Regions from separate parts of the Homo sapiens genome. Here region 1 is linked to region 2. Evidence: promoter capture Hi-C in 16 types of primary human blood cells and fetal thymus (Javierre and others, 2016). All regions are on one chromosome and are shown on one strand. Each heading gives the region's core, a stretch centred on a gene start or on the middle of the fragment in contact. The rest is flanking DNA. Distances are from core to core; before and after follow the strand shown. Region 1 has its middle 14 kb from the start of MS4A4A. Region 2 holds the start of MS4A10 (membrane spanning 4-domains A10).

Region 1 (7,595 bases), core at 4,564-7,063, 520 kb after region 2:
ACTCTCACCACTCCTTTTCATAGTACTGGAAGTTCTAAACAAAGCAATCAGGCAAGAGAAAGAACTAAAATGCATCCAAATAGGAAAAGAAGAAGTCAAACTATCTCTGATTGCAGATGATATAATTCTATACCTGGAAAACCCCATAGTCTGCCCAAAACCTCTTACATCTGATAGACAACTTCAGCAAAGTTTCAGGATATAAAATTAATGTATATAAATCAGTAGCATTTTTATACACCAACAGCATCCAAGCTGAGAGCCAAATCATTCACAATAGGCCAAAAAAAAAAAAAGAATAAAATATCTAGGAATTTAGTTAATGAGAGAGGTGAAAGATCTCTACAATGAGGATTAGAAAACAGTGTTCAAAGTAATCAGAGATGACACAGACAAATAAAAAAGCATTCCATGCTCATGGATAGGAAGAATCAATATTATTAAAATAGTCATTGTGCTAACAGCAATCTACAGATTCAATGCTGTTCCTATCAAACTACCAATGACATTCTTCACAGAATTAGAAAATAAACTATTTTATAATTCATATGGAACTGAAAAGAGCCTGAATAGCCATGGAAATCCTAAGCAAAAAGAACAAAGCTGGAGGCATCATGGTACCTGACTTCAAACTATATTACAAAGCTACTGTAACCAAAACAGCATGGTAATGGTACAAAAACAGACACATTGACCAATGGAACAGAATAAAGATCCCAGAAAGAAAGTGACATGCCTACAACCATCTGATACTTAACAAAGTCAGCAAAAACAAGCAATGTGGAAAGGATCCCTATTTAATAAATGGTAATGGGATAACTGGCTAGCCATCTACAGAAGATTGAAGCTGGATCCCTAACTTACACTATATACAAAAATCAACTAATGATGGATTAAAGATTTAAATGTAAAATCTAAGCCTATAAAAACCATGAAAAATAACCTAGGAAATACCATTCTGGACATAGGCCCTGGAAAAGATTTCATGTCAAAGATGTCAAAAGCAATTGCACAAAAAAAAAAAAAAATGGACAAGTGGGACCTAATTAAAGAGCTTCTCCACAGCAAAAGAAACTATCAACAGAGTAAACAGACAGCCTACAGAATGGGAGAAAGTATGTGCAAACTATGCATCTGACAAAGGTCTAATATCAAGAATCTATAAGGAAATTAAATTAACAAGTGAAAAACAATCAACCCCATTAAAAGGTGGGCAAAGGACATGAACAGACACTTTTTAAAAGAAGACATACACACAGCCAACAAGTATACTTAAAAAACTCTCAACATCACTAATCATTAGAGAATCACAAATCAAAACTACAAGGAGACTGTGGCCATCTCATGCCAGTCAGAGTGGCTATTATTAAAATGTCAAAAAGTAACAGATGCTAAAAAGGTTGTGGAGGAAAAATAACACCATACACTGCTTGTGGGAATGTAAATTAGTTCAGCCTTGTGCAAAGTAGTGTGGCAATTTCTCAAAGAACTTAAAACAGAAGTTCCATTCGACCCAGCTATCCCATTATTAGGTATATACCCAAAGGAACATAAATTATTTTACCATAAAGATACATGTCCACATATGTTCATAGCAGAGACATGAAATCATACTGAATGCCCATCAATGGTAGACTGGAAAAAACGGTACGTATACACCATGGGAAACTACACAGCCATAAGAAAGAATGAGTTCATGTTCTTTGAAGAAACACGGATGGAGCTGGATTCCTTTATCCTAAGCACACTCATGCAGAAACAGAAAACTAAATATCACACATTCTCACTTATGAGTAATAGCTAAACACTGAGTACACATGGACACAAAGAAGGGAAAAACAGACACTGGGTCCTACTGGAGGGTAGAGGGTGAGAAGAGGGTAAGGATTAAAAAACTATCTATTGAGTACTATGCTTATTACATGGGTGATAAAATAATCGGTACACCAAACCTCTGTGGCATGTAAGCATTTATTTTCTTGAACCTCATAATGCAAATCCTTAGAGCTCACTAGCAGTTATTTGAACCAAAGAAGTGGAAAGTGCAAAGCTCTTGAGGGGAGCAGGTTCCTGTGCTTCTGAGGGGGCAGTGTGTCTGGAGACACATTGAGATTGGGATAGGGAGAAGAGAAGGCAATGTTGTCTGAGGTGTCTGCGGGGCCTCAATTATAAAAGAACTTGAGGTCTTATTAAGGACTTAGGTTTATTCTGAGTGAAATAGAGGCACTGGAAGATTTTCAGCAAAAGGAACACAGGATCTGACTAGTGTCTTAACAGTATCACTCTGGCTGCTTGCCATGATAAGAACAGACTGAAGGGAGATGAGGGAAGACGTAGGGAGGATAGTGAGGAGGCTCCGACAGTAGTCCAAGAGAGAGGATGGTGGGTTGGGTTGTTGGGATGCAGCGTTGCTTCTCACTAAAATCCTGGGAGGTTGGTACCTACACTTGTCTTTCAAACTGCATGTCACAAGGGTTTGGTGTACAGATTATTTATTTAAAAACTATACATGTACCCTGAACATAAAATAAAAGTTTTAAAAAAAGAAAGCTACAGAAAACATCAGGAAGAGCAGTGGAACACTATCAGAAAAAGAAAATATATTTCATTCCAAAAAAAAAAAATGCCAGCTCTTTTTTCTCTTGGGAGGGCAAAAAAGGGAATGAGCCGACAATATATCTTCTCACCCACTTAGACTTCCAACTTTCCCTATTCATTGTCTCTGTGAGCCAAAGCCAAGTCTCATTTAGTTGTTTCTCTCTGGAGGGGGACCAGGTAGTGTAATAGAAAGACCACAGGGCTAAAAAGCAGCAGGTCTGAGCTCCGGACAATTCAGCCATTTGCCAATTGTGTCACTCTGGGAAAATCTCCACAAATCCCCTATAAATGTGTGACAGTAAAGCAAACCATTCAGGTTTGTTTGGAGAATTAGAGGCTGGAAAGAGAGAAAGGACAAAGCATTGCTTTCCTATTCTCTCTGCATTGACACAGCCTTTGGAAGTAGCTACTTCTTCCACAGTTATACTACAAAGCAGCTCTTCTTACAAGACTTCTGCTCTTTATTGGTCCCCATAATAGTGTGTTCTCTTCTCATACCTTCCTGCTTTTCTTGTCTGTAGTGACCTCCCTTTCCTTCTTCGTTCCCTTAACTCTGCCCAAATTCTGCGAGGTCTTCATAAAAATCCCTTAAATAAGTCACATGGGATGAATTATGTTTCTTGGGGACACTTTTACTGATACCTGAGCCTTCAAAATGACTGAATGTGGGGAGTGAAAGAAAGAGAGGCGTAGGCACCCACCTCCTAGGATTTGAATGAGCAGTGATGCTGTGTTCCAACAACACAACCCACCATCCTCTCTCTGGGACTACTGCCGGAGCCTCCTCGCTACTCTCCCCACATCTTCCCTCGCCTCCCTTCAGTCGGTTCTTACCAAGACAGGCAGCCAGAGTGGTCCTGTTAAGATGCAAGTTAGATCCTGTCTTCCCTTTGCTGAAAATCTTCCAATGCCTCCTACCTCACTCAAAATAAGCCGTATCTCCTTAATAAGTCGCTTTATAATCCAGCCCCCCAGAAATCTCAGACAACATTGCCTTCTCCTCTCCCTATTCCAGTCTCAATGTGTCTCCAGACGTACTGTTTCCTCAGAAGCATGGAACGTGCTCACCTCAAGACCTCTGCTCTTACCACTTGTTGGTCCAGATAACTGCTAGGGATTTGTATTATCAGGTTCAAGAAAATAAATGCGTGGTTCCACTCATTATCTCAGCATTATTATTTCAGAAGAATAGTTCACACATATTATTAGATTAAATTTTATTCACCTAAATTGCGTTTGAGAAAATTTCTTTATTATCCATTTTGAGTAACGAGTGGGAATCCTAGGAGGTGCTCGAGCAACACCAGGTGGTTACTGCCATGAAAAGGGATGTGAGTCCCTCTGGGGAGGCAGGACTGGAAAAATCTGAGGAGTAGTCAGTGAATTTCTATACTGTGTAAAATAAAGGGAAAGAGAAACAAAACAAAAACTCCAAAAATGGTACTGGCCCAACCATGATGGGAATGGGTATTAGAGAAACGTTCAGAAGTCCTAACTTTATTTCACTTCTTTTAATCCTCTCTCCACCCAGCTTTCACCGATCCACTCTATGGCATTGGAAAATAAATGCTTGGTTCATTTCCATCAGTCAGCTTCACTAGAAACTACTAGGTTGGTTCATTCACTTTCAAAGTCACTTCTAGATCCATGAAACCATATGAGTCATCCTAAAATCTCTCATGGACATATTTCCTTAATGTGTGATCTATAAGTCCAACACCATGAGGGAGGCTCTCAGGGTCGGGCTGGTTCAGGTTATTTCCCTTATGAGAGGCCAGTGGCTGTTCCACCAAGAAGGGAAGAAGCCAGGCACAGATGTTGCCACCTGGCCACTCATCCCGAAGCCTTCCCAAACCCTCACCTTCTGCAATAAGATCCATGTTCCAAAAAGCAGAGAGGAGGGCATGGTAATGTCTCTGGTGTGCCATTTATAACCCAGATTTTTCAGAATATGAGACCAGGTGAGATGTGCAGTCTCAACCTCTCCCTCTAGCTGTATCCACACCCTCCTCCATCATGCATGTGCTCACATTTTACAGAATGTGGGGAAAGACAGGAGAAGGGAGAGGAGAGTAGAGTAAATAACAATTAGATAAAATCTAAAATATGTTTTTCAGTTCACCAGAGTGCAGAGAATGGGGTGGGAGTGGACAAAAAAGTGGTATAAAGTTAGGATGGTACAAAAAGCACCCTTTGAAATTAAAGCACTTTAATACTATCTTGAAAATCAACTTGTGATGTTTTGAAAATTCATTCTCAGGTATCCTCACTAACACCTTTCAATATAAGTAATAATATCTAAATAATACCTACAAAATTTAGCAGATGAAAAAGCTAAGGGTCAGAGGGATGACTTGCTGTATCTACTAGATTCCCAGAGAATATGGGATAGAAATGGGACCCAACCCAGCGCTAGTATACAAGACCAGAGCTGGGAGTTGACTTTTCATAAGGTCTTCCCAGAAGACACCAGATTAGGTAGGAATTCAAATTAGGTAGGACAATTTCTTGTCCACTGCCTCCCTCTTGTGGCTCAATTAAATATGACACCTCAATGTCAAAATGAAGGGGATAATAGGAAAAACAGAAAAACTGGGTTATACATTCATTACCTTCATGACTCACGTGAATCACTTTCTTTCCCTGGGCCACAGACTTCTCATATTTCAGTGTAGAAAGATTTCCACGTCTCTTCTAACTCTGATGTTCTATTTTTATAAGATGTAAATCAGGTCTCTTATATACAGCCCAGTCTAAGCAAAGCATCTCAATATTGTAAGAACTGCCTGTGTGCATGTGTGTGCGTGTGTGTGCATGCATGTGTGTGTGGAAAGAGATGACAACAATTGAGACTACAGAGCAAGTATTAAGAGAACTGTTTGTATTTCTGGACTCCTGAAAATTGTGCACCACCTTCTACATGTCTTTGTGGTCAGTGGTGAACAGGCCATACCATGAGTGCTAGGAGAATTTTCCTGATGCCAGGATTTGAGCTTACCATTGCTCATTTACCCTAATTTCTTCCCAAAGATATGTTACTTTTGGGAAAGAAACTGGGGAAAGATTGAAAAGTAAATCCTAGCTTGCATTCCTGGGACAAATAGTCCCCGAGAGATATATAACTTTAAGCTTGGTTCTGAACTGAGATCATTGTCTCCTCTAGTAACCTGAAGCAGCATCAAGACATCACATCCTACTCTCTGTCCTTACAATAAAAGGCCTCAGTTTAGTATCCCGAAGTCCAACTTGGCCCTACCCTCCAGACACAGATATGAAGATGTAAAGAGAAGGCCAAAGCTTATGGAATAAATCCTACTCAGAAGAGAAGATAGGCACAGGGCCAGGTTCTATGCATTCTGGCTCAATACCAGCGGTAGAATTTAAAAAGCCTTTAGTTGCATCTGGAGAACTCCAGGTTCGTCTAGAGCAGTAGCTCTTAAAATGTGGTTCCCAGAGTAGTAGCATCAGTATCACCTGACATTGTGGTTGACATGCAAATACCCTACCCCAGACCTATTGAATCAGACAGTCTCGGTGTGCATTCTGTGTTTTAAGAAGCCCTCCAGATTTTGATACACACTCAAGTTTGATATCTACAGGCTTATAGCAGTAATTGGCAACATTGACTATACGGTAGAATCCGCTAAAGAGCTACAAAAAATTTTGACTCTCCAACCATAATCCATATTAATTAAATCAGAATACCTGGTAATGGGGCTCATGTGTTAGTACGTGTTAAAGTTTCCCAAGTTATCCCAATGCTCAGACAAGATTGAGATCCATTGCTCTAGAGGCAAAGGCAGACTTCTTGGAGAGTCTTTTGCTTCTGTCTCCATCCTTTCAGCTAACTAGTAGAAGGGCCCAGGCCTTTCTCACATTAACTTCTGTTAAGCAAGTTCTAGTCCCATCTCAGGTTTGTGCAGGTGATTTGTTTTTAAACATAAGCTTGGGACTTTAATTTTACCTGATTAAATTTGATCTGTATTCCAACGCTCATGTTCCAGACTTTTGGGTTGTATCTTCAATCTGGACACTCTCGTTTTATAAATTATACTTCTTGTTTTTGGATCATTTGCAAATAGGATCAGCAACTAAATTCTTGATGAAAATATTAAGTGGTTGAAGATCCAACCAAGAGACTCCACAAAGGATGACATTAACACCCCCTGCATAGGATTTCTACCAGATGACAATCCATATAACTGGTTATTCAGGGCATGGTAGGCAGCCATAGTCCTGATTCTCTGGTTTTCCATATTTAGGGTCAACCCTGAGCCATTTGGCTGAGACCAGCTGGGCCTGGGTGTCATCTGATCACCTTTGTTACAGGATCAGTCCCGAGCCTGTGCACTGAGGCCTCTTCAGTACTTCTTCTGAACTAATAATACAAGGTTCCAAATGTCAGATATAGGAGAAACCGAGTGTTGGAGTTATCTGGGCCTGGGTTTTTAAAATACAAGTAAGGACAAAGGATGTCAAGATGTATAACTCTGATGTTCAGTCTTCGGCTTCAGTCTTCCTCACTTGACTGTCACTCTAGCCCTGAAGCAAATATACCAATGCCATGCCATGAAATTGCCTCATGGGCATAATTGTTGTACATTCCGACTAAACACAATAAGAAGACGGCAGGGCTTGAGTTTCACCACCAGCCCCCAGATGACCGCATAACAGCTATCACATAGTCTTACTGAACTAAAGTACCTGGGAACTTGAACTCCAAGCTCTTGGTGCTGATCCTGTGAAAAGTGCAATGTTGCATGTCCTGTCCCAGCTTCCTCTTTTCCAGGGACTTTCATATCTTAACTGTTCCTCTTGTGGTGCTCTCAGAGCTTTTCTCCACCAACCACTTTTTTTTTCTTTTTGCATTTCAAAACACATCACTTTTCGTTTATTTCATTATACAAATTATTTGCTTTCAAATCCATTTTTTCATGCATAAGTGCATGGCCATTTCTATTTCTTTAGTTAAATTGTCTGGTCCTGCACTTCATCCA
Region 2 (7,428 bases), core at 3,226-5,725:
TCAGGAAGTCCATATTTAACGATGCTAACATTTACAAATACTTTCTCTGCTCCAGGCACTGAGATAAACCTTCTACGTGCATTACCTGATTTTGTCCTCATTCCAACCCTATGAGGTAAATACCGTCCTCACTCTCATTTTGCAGATGAGGCTCAGAAAGGTTAAGCCACTTGCCCATGGTCACACAACCAGTAAGTGACTTGGACTTGAAGCATGGCAGGCTGGCTCCAGAGCCTGGGGCTTAAGTCCTTCATGCACTGTTGGCTCAACAATTGGAAATGAATGTTCTGGATGTTCTCATGGGCACAAAAAGGAGTTGGGGAAAAAAGTTAGAAGGGGGCTGGACACACGACCTGCAGACAGGGCCTGGTATAGTGTATACTGACGCCGTGGGATGCACTAGGGCTTGGGGGCTGCCTGGGACTTGGTGAGAAAATCCAACGTAGTCTTTCTGTCCCAGGAAGTGGACAGCTGGGCGGGGAAGAAAGGGAGCTGGCTTGCAGGGATTGAGGTCAGAGATGGTTTCTCCATGGGGATGGGGCTAATGAGCAAATCCTTGAGAGAGAGAGGCTGCTCTCAGACTGTATCCTGGATGAATGAAAAGGGAGGGCCATTCCTCTCACTTTTAAGTCTGACTTGTGGATCCAGGAAGTTCCATTGAGCATCCACATTTTCCACAGGGATGCAGGGAAAGAGTTTTGGGAAGTTTGGAGGGACAAATAGCCCAGGTGACTATATCCTGGATTGGGTAGAGGGGAAAGGAAGGGACATTATCAAGAGCCAAAGAGCCAGATGGGGCCTCACAGTTGGGTGAGCACTGTATGCCGGGCACTGTGCCAGGAGGCAGTTTTGCCTGGCAACCTCCCTTAATACTCAGGAAGTCAGCACCATTGCATAGAAGAGGAAACCAAGGTTCAGAGAGGTTGCCTGCCTTGGCCATGGTCACACAGTGAGGAAGTGCCTGGAATTGGAACCACGCATGGTCTTACTCCATCGCCAGTGCTCTGGGCCTGGGCTGCTGGGTAGGACCCCCTGATTGATATCTCCATGGTCCTGCAGTGACGACCGCTGATTTAGTGGGGTGAGTGGGCAGAGGGTCTCCCTCTTTCCTGGGCTTCAGAAGCTGAGCTCATAGACACAGTGCTGTATGATTCTTTTTGTGACTCTGCCCAGCTATGCATGGGAACTGTCCCTCTGGGAACTGTCCCTTGGGAAGGTTCCCAAGCCTTCAGAAGTCCGTCTGACACAGCTAGCTGGACTAAGGGATGTATTCGGTGGCAGAGGCCTGAACCAGGTTAGCCACTGGCTTCACCTAGACTCTGCACACCTGGGAGGACAATACCTGGACCCAGGCCTGGACTCCACTGCAAAGAACAGAAGAAGAGGGACTTCTTAGTAGAGCTGCCTTGGATGGAACTGCTTGTCCACGGAGATAGTGAGTGCCTGGGCACTGGAGCTGTACCTCCACCTAGACATTCACTTGTGAGAGCTGTGGCAGTAGGAATGGTTCAAATATCCAACAGGGAGTTGGACTCAAGAATCCAGAATAACCTTTCTCAAAGTATGTTCCATGGAACATTGGTCCTGATGTATCTGCAGTAAAAGGGTTCCATGGTCAAATAAGTTTGAGAAACCATGGTTAGCCTCTTCTCCCTTTTTCTCATATTAAAGACTCTGAGATTTTCTACAAGTGGCACACTCTGTTTTAGTATTAAGGGCATTTCCCAAACTTAATTGGCCATATAATCTTTATTATTTATTTATTTATTTATTTATTTATTTCTATTTTTGAGACGGAGTTTCGCTCTTGTCACCCAGGCTGGAGTGTAGTGGCGTAATCTTGGCTCACCGCAACCTCCGCCTCCCGGGTTCAAGTGATTCTCCTGCCTCAGCCTCCTGAGTAACTGGGATTACAGGCACCTGCCACCACGCCCTGCTAATTTTGTATTTTTAGTAGAGATGGGGTTTCTTCATGTTGGTCAGGCTGGTCTCAAACTCCCGACCTCAGGTGATCCGCCTACCTTGGCCTCCGAAAGTGCTAGGATTACAGATGTGAGCCACTGCGCCCGGCTGGCCATAGGATCTTTTTTTTCTCATTGTCTAACGGTTCTATGCAATTGGTATTCTGTGGGGTCTGCTTTTGGGCAAAGTGGCCTTGAAGGTTTCAATTTCTGGTCCTGGGCTCTGGTTTTTGGCCTTTTCTCTGCTTTTGGTTTGCTCACGTGCATATCACAGTGGGAATGGGAATTGAGTGATGATCTCTAAGGTCCCTTCCAACTTTAAATATAATACTTCTCTCACGGGATAGAGAGCCGCTACAAGGAATTTTATACAACCAGGAGAGGAAGGAGTTGCAGAGGGCAGACCTTAGTCATCATGGGGAAAAGTTTGTTATGACTCTCTCGTACGCCTTTCCAAGACAAAGAGCATGAACTCTGATTCCTTAGAACACTTATTCCCAGCTGTCCTGGCCCACTTCCAGGACCTGTGCAGGGCTGCTAGGAGGTGACAGTGTGCTGACAGAGAGGGGGCAGGCAGCAGGCTGTTTGGTGCATAAAGGAACTTTTTTAGCCTTTCCCCGCCCAACCCCAGCCCCCTCAGCCAGCTCAGGACCACGGACCCAGCCAGCTTGGTATCCCACGGGAAACCCACTGCCACTAGGGCCTCAGCGCTCTGCACAGGGCCACGGGATGCCTGGGTCCCACACATATTCTCGTTGTTCCTTCAGTTCTGGGAGTGGAGGGAGGACAGGGACAGAGCTGGGCAGGACCCTCCAGAACCCCCCAGCAAAGCAGCAGAGTGGGCACGGCCCTGAGCGCTGGAAGTTGTCAGCTAGAATGGGTGCTCCGTGCAAAGTCCTGGCTCTGCTCCCCGGAGCTTTGACCTTGGGCCGGTTTTTTACATCTCAGCATCTGAGTCTCCCCTCACCTTCTCATGGGGAGTGCCACTGCCTGTCCCTAGGGGGTAGGTGGTGAGGAGTAGCTGAAACAATGCCTGCAACTGACAGGGACTGGCGTATAGCAATAAATGTCAGCCACAGTTGCCACTGGCCTGTTGCGTGTCTAGAATCCCACCAGTGAGGCTCCACCTTGTCCTCGTCTGGTTCTCGGTTAAGACATGGTACACCCCATCCCTATCATCTGGAGTGGTGAGTTTATTGCCTCCATCTGCATCCTGCTTACAGGGGGAGAGGGCTGTGAGAGCGAGGCTCCACCTTGTCCTCGTCTGGTTCTTGGTTAAGACATGATACACCCTGTCCCTATCATCTGGAGTGGTGAGTTTATTGCCTCCATCCCCATCCTGCTTACAGGGGGAGAGGGCCGTGAGAGCTCTGGGGCCCTGGGGTGGGGGTAGGGGGTCGTGAGGGAAGAAAGGCACTGAGTGTATTGAGCTAGTGATCTGAGATCCAACACTGTCATTCGTGGATTTGTTTGTGGAGTTTCTGCACTGGACACTGCAGGGACCGAGGCAGGAGTGAGTAAGATGTGTCCATGGGAGGTCTGTGGCTGAGCAGGCAGAGGAAACGTGGCATGAATAATATGACCCTCATCAGACTGTGCAGTGGAGCCCTAGAGGACAGAGAGAGCTTCTCAGGGTGTGTGTGTGTGTGTGTGTGTGCGTGTGTGTGTGTGTGCATGTGTGTGCATGCATGTGCATGCATGTCAAGGACAGAAAGGCAGGAATTGAGAGGTGCTGAGTGACAAGAGTGTCACAACATGTGACAGGCAGGCTGGTGTTGGGGGTGGGGTGCCTTAGAGGATCAGCGTTTCAGTGAATGCCAGTTAGAAAACCACCTACGACTGTACTGAACCAGCCTCCTCCTGGTGCTTCCAGACAGTGTGCCTGGTGTAAAGAGAGCTCACCCACCAGCAGCTGGAAGGCCTGCAGGAAACAGAGGCCTCCGTCCAAGGAGGGAGTCAAGAATCTGGATTCTAGTCCTGCCCCCTCGTGGCCCTCGACAAGTCCCTTCTCCTCCCTGGGGCTCTGTTTTCTTGAACTGGTCTCTCTGTGTGTATGCATTTCCAGACTGCAAGAAAAGTGTCTGGGGCTCCTCCAGCAATAAGGGTCAGTAACTGGCAGCAGGATGGGGCTCCGCAGGGGAGAGGCCGACGGTGCCCCCTACTTCCCAGATCCCCTCTGCTGGGTGGGCCACCCATTCTCCAGCTGGTATAATTGTTCATTGCTAAAGGCTCACATCTCCTCCCTTCTGGGAGTTTAAGTAACACCGCTCCAACCCTACAGCCAACAACTGATTGGCTAGGGGTATAAGAGGCCGGTCCCCTGGCTTCAAGGGGGGACCAGGTCTGTACACCTGAGCAACCCCCCAACTCCACATGGAAACACAAAATCACTCCCCTCTGTTCCTGCCATGGGGGGACCACTCACCCCAGGACCTGGGACTGCAGCTCTGAGCTTCCAGCTGTGCTTTGCCCTCTTGCGCTGCCGGAGCTCCCCAGAGACAGCGCTGGGAAATCAGCACATCTTTACAACATTCGACTTTGGATCTTCTCCCTCCTGGACCCACGCCCTGCTTCATGCCCCGGTTGCATGGAAGCTGTCAAAGTCCTTCCCCCTCCCGCCAAACCCCGGCAGGTGAAAATCTTAGTGCCCTTCTTTATGTCTCTCCTTGACAGTTGTAAATTTCCTTTGGCAAGGGAAATGTTGATAATTTAATCTGTTTTCAGGGCATGACTGATGGAGTGAAAGTGGTTGTAATCGTCTTAGATCCTGGGAGTGGAGTAAGAAGTTGAACCTTTTGAAAGAGTTCTTTTAATTCTGGAAAATTTCAAGCACTCACAAAAGTAGAGAGAATGGTTCCATGACACCCCTGTGCCCATTCGCGAGCTACAGCCACCATCAGCAGCTCTTGGCCAATCTTATTCTCCCCCAGAAGTAAGCAAAACTCAGATATCTTCCCATTTTATTTGTAAGCATTTTAGTATTTATCTCTAAAAGATATGGACTCTTTAAAAAAAAAGTGTGACCACATGATCAGAACAAAAAAATTAAAACCGAGTCCTGGTGCTCACTGAGGTCTATTTACGCTCAGAGTTTAACCCTGCAGCCCCACAGAGCTCTGTTGAACATTTGGAAACTAGTCTTTTAAAGGGCCGGGCGGTGGCTCATGCCTGCAATCCCAGCTCTTTGGGAGACCAAAGTGGGAGGATCACTTGAGCCAAGAGCTTGAGACCAGCCTGGGCAACATAGCGAGACCTCATCTCTACAAAAATTCAAAAATTCAAAAATGAGCCAGGTGTCTTGGTCCCTGTCTATGGTTCCAGCTGCTCGAGAGGCTGAGGTGGGAGCATCACTTGAGTCCAGTGAGCTGTGATCACACCACTGCACCTCAGTCCGGGCAACACAGTGTGACCCTGTCTCAAAAAAAAAAAAAAAAAAAAAAGAGGAAAGGAAAAAAGAAACTACTTTCATAGAGCAGTGGTCCCCAACCGTTCTGGCACTGGGGACCAGTTTCGTGGAAGACAATTTTTCCATGGGCCGGGGTGGGGATGGGGGATGGTTCTGGGATGAAATTAGTCCACCTCAGATCATCAGGCATTCGATTCTCATGAGGGTACCACTTAGATCCCTTGCATGTGCAATTCATAATAGGGCCCGTTCTGCTTTGAGAATCTATTGCTGCGGCTGATCTGACAGGAGGCGGCACTCAGGTGGTAGGTCATGCTTGCCTGTTGCCCCTCACCTTCTGCTGTGAGGCCTGGTTCCTAACAGGCCACAGACTGGTATAGCTCCATGGCCTGGGGGTTGGGGACCCCTGTTGTGGGGGACAAGCTTAACCCTAGGAGTCAGAAAAACCTGTTCTTATCTAGTTTTTGGTACTTACCGGGTATCAAATAACTAGTCGGAGCTTCAGTTTCTGATTATCTCACAAATGTCTTGTTACTTTTGATTTGTTCAAATCAGGATCCAGGATCCAGGCATGGCCCACAAATTGCATCTGACAGAATCAGTTGCCACATCTTGTGCCCTGATCTTTCCATGAGCACGGTGCTGCTCTGGGAAGTGTGAAGGTCTTCCGTGAGGCTGTTCTGGTGGAGGAGGTGTGGAGTGGGCTCCAGTGACCCCCAGATCCCATGACCCCCAGATCCAGTGACCCCAGATCCAGCGACCCCCAGGTACCACAACCCCCAGATCCAGGGACCCCCAGATCCCACAACCCTCAGATCCTGTGACCCCCAGATCCCATGACCCCCAGATCCCACAACCCCCAGATCCCGTGACCCCCAGATCCTGTGACTCCCAGATCCTATGACCCCAGATCCAGTGACCCCCCCGATCCAGTGACCCCCAGATCCAGCAACCCCCAGATCCCACGACCCCCAGATCCAACAAACCCCAGATCCAGCAACCTCCAGATCCCACAACTCCCAGATCCAGCAACCCCCAGATCCCACAACTCCCAGATCCAGCAACCCCCAGATCCCACAACCCCCAGATCCAACAACCCTCAGATCCCACAACTCCCAGATCCAGCAACCCCCAGATCCTGTGACCCCCAGATCCAGCGACCCCCAGATCCAGCGACCCCTAGATCCCGCCTTGGGCTCTTCCTTTTCCATCTGGCTTCTCTCTCCACATCGCTCTGCTGAGGGTGGACAGGGAAGCGCGAGGCAGAGCCAGCGGCTGTACAGATAGTCCCTGATGCCAGGACTGACTGACTTTGACTTGCTGAGCACAGCATAGCACTTCAGAGCTGACTCTGCATCTGGGATGCCTGAGTTCAAATCTTGATTCTACCTCTTAATGTTGTGTGACCTTGGGCAAGTTATTTGACTTTGGTGGGCCTCAGTTTTCCCCTCTATAAAATGGGGATAATAGTACCCATCAAGTTGCTGGAGGGTTAAATGAGTTAGAATATGTAAAATGCTTAAAAGCAGCGCCTCACACGTGTCAGTGGCCGTGCCTAATTATTTTAGTTGCTGTGTGCTTCCGGGGTCGCTCGTGCTCAGCTGTCATGCATGTTCAATGTGGCATAGACTTCGATGTCACACACACAATCAGGCAAAAGGCCACTCACCCCTCTCAGACCTGCTGGACTATGCAGGCTTCCCCTGAGGGGTAGGGGGCCAGGCTGAGCAGCAGCCAGTAGCTTTGAGAGAGACCTGTTTCTTCTGAAGGCACTTGCCTGCCCACTGTAATGCTGAGACACGTGAGGCCAATAATCACTGTCATTGGTTGCCTTGCACCCGTTCATCACCCACGACTTTAGCTCCTCAAACATGGGGTGAGTGTTTTTCCAGGACCAGTGCTTTTTTGCTGAGTAGGAAGACAGCCCCCCACCCCCCTGATACCCTTGTTCATTAACTGATCCGTTCATTGATAAAACAGCTAATGAGCACTTACTTGGGCCAGGCGCTGTGTGACATGCTGGGGATCCAGGAGTGGGCAAGAGGCTGCCCCTGGCCTTGA

The links. Contacts are between HindIII fragments. The CHiCAGO score rates a contact against its expected background, and 5 or more counts as called.
Region 1: a contact is called between a fragment that was not itself captured here and the fragment with the promoter of MS4A10 in region 2, in 1 of 17 cell types (naive B cells). The highest score is 5.2, in naive B cells.

The regions. Positions count from the first base shown.
Region 1 is chr11:60,263,335-60,270,929 of GRCh38, reverse strand. No RefSeq gene overlaps it. Among named protein-coding and RNA genes, the nearest start is that of MS4A4A, 14 kb to the left of the region's middle. The HindIII fragment of the contact is 168 bases long and covers 5,730-5,897 here.
Region 2 is chr11:60,782,380-60,789,807 of GRCh38, reverse strand. It overlaps MS4A10 (membrane spanning 4-domains A10), which reads right to left and starts at 4,475. Exons shown (of 8, transcript NM_206893.4): 1 at 4,387-4,475. The HindIII fragment of the contact is 8,520 bases long and covers 1-5,792 here.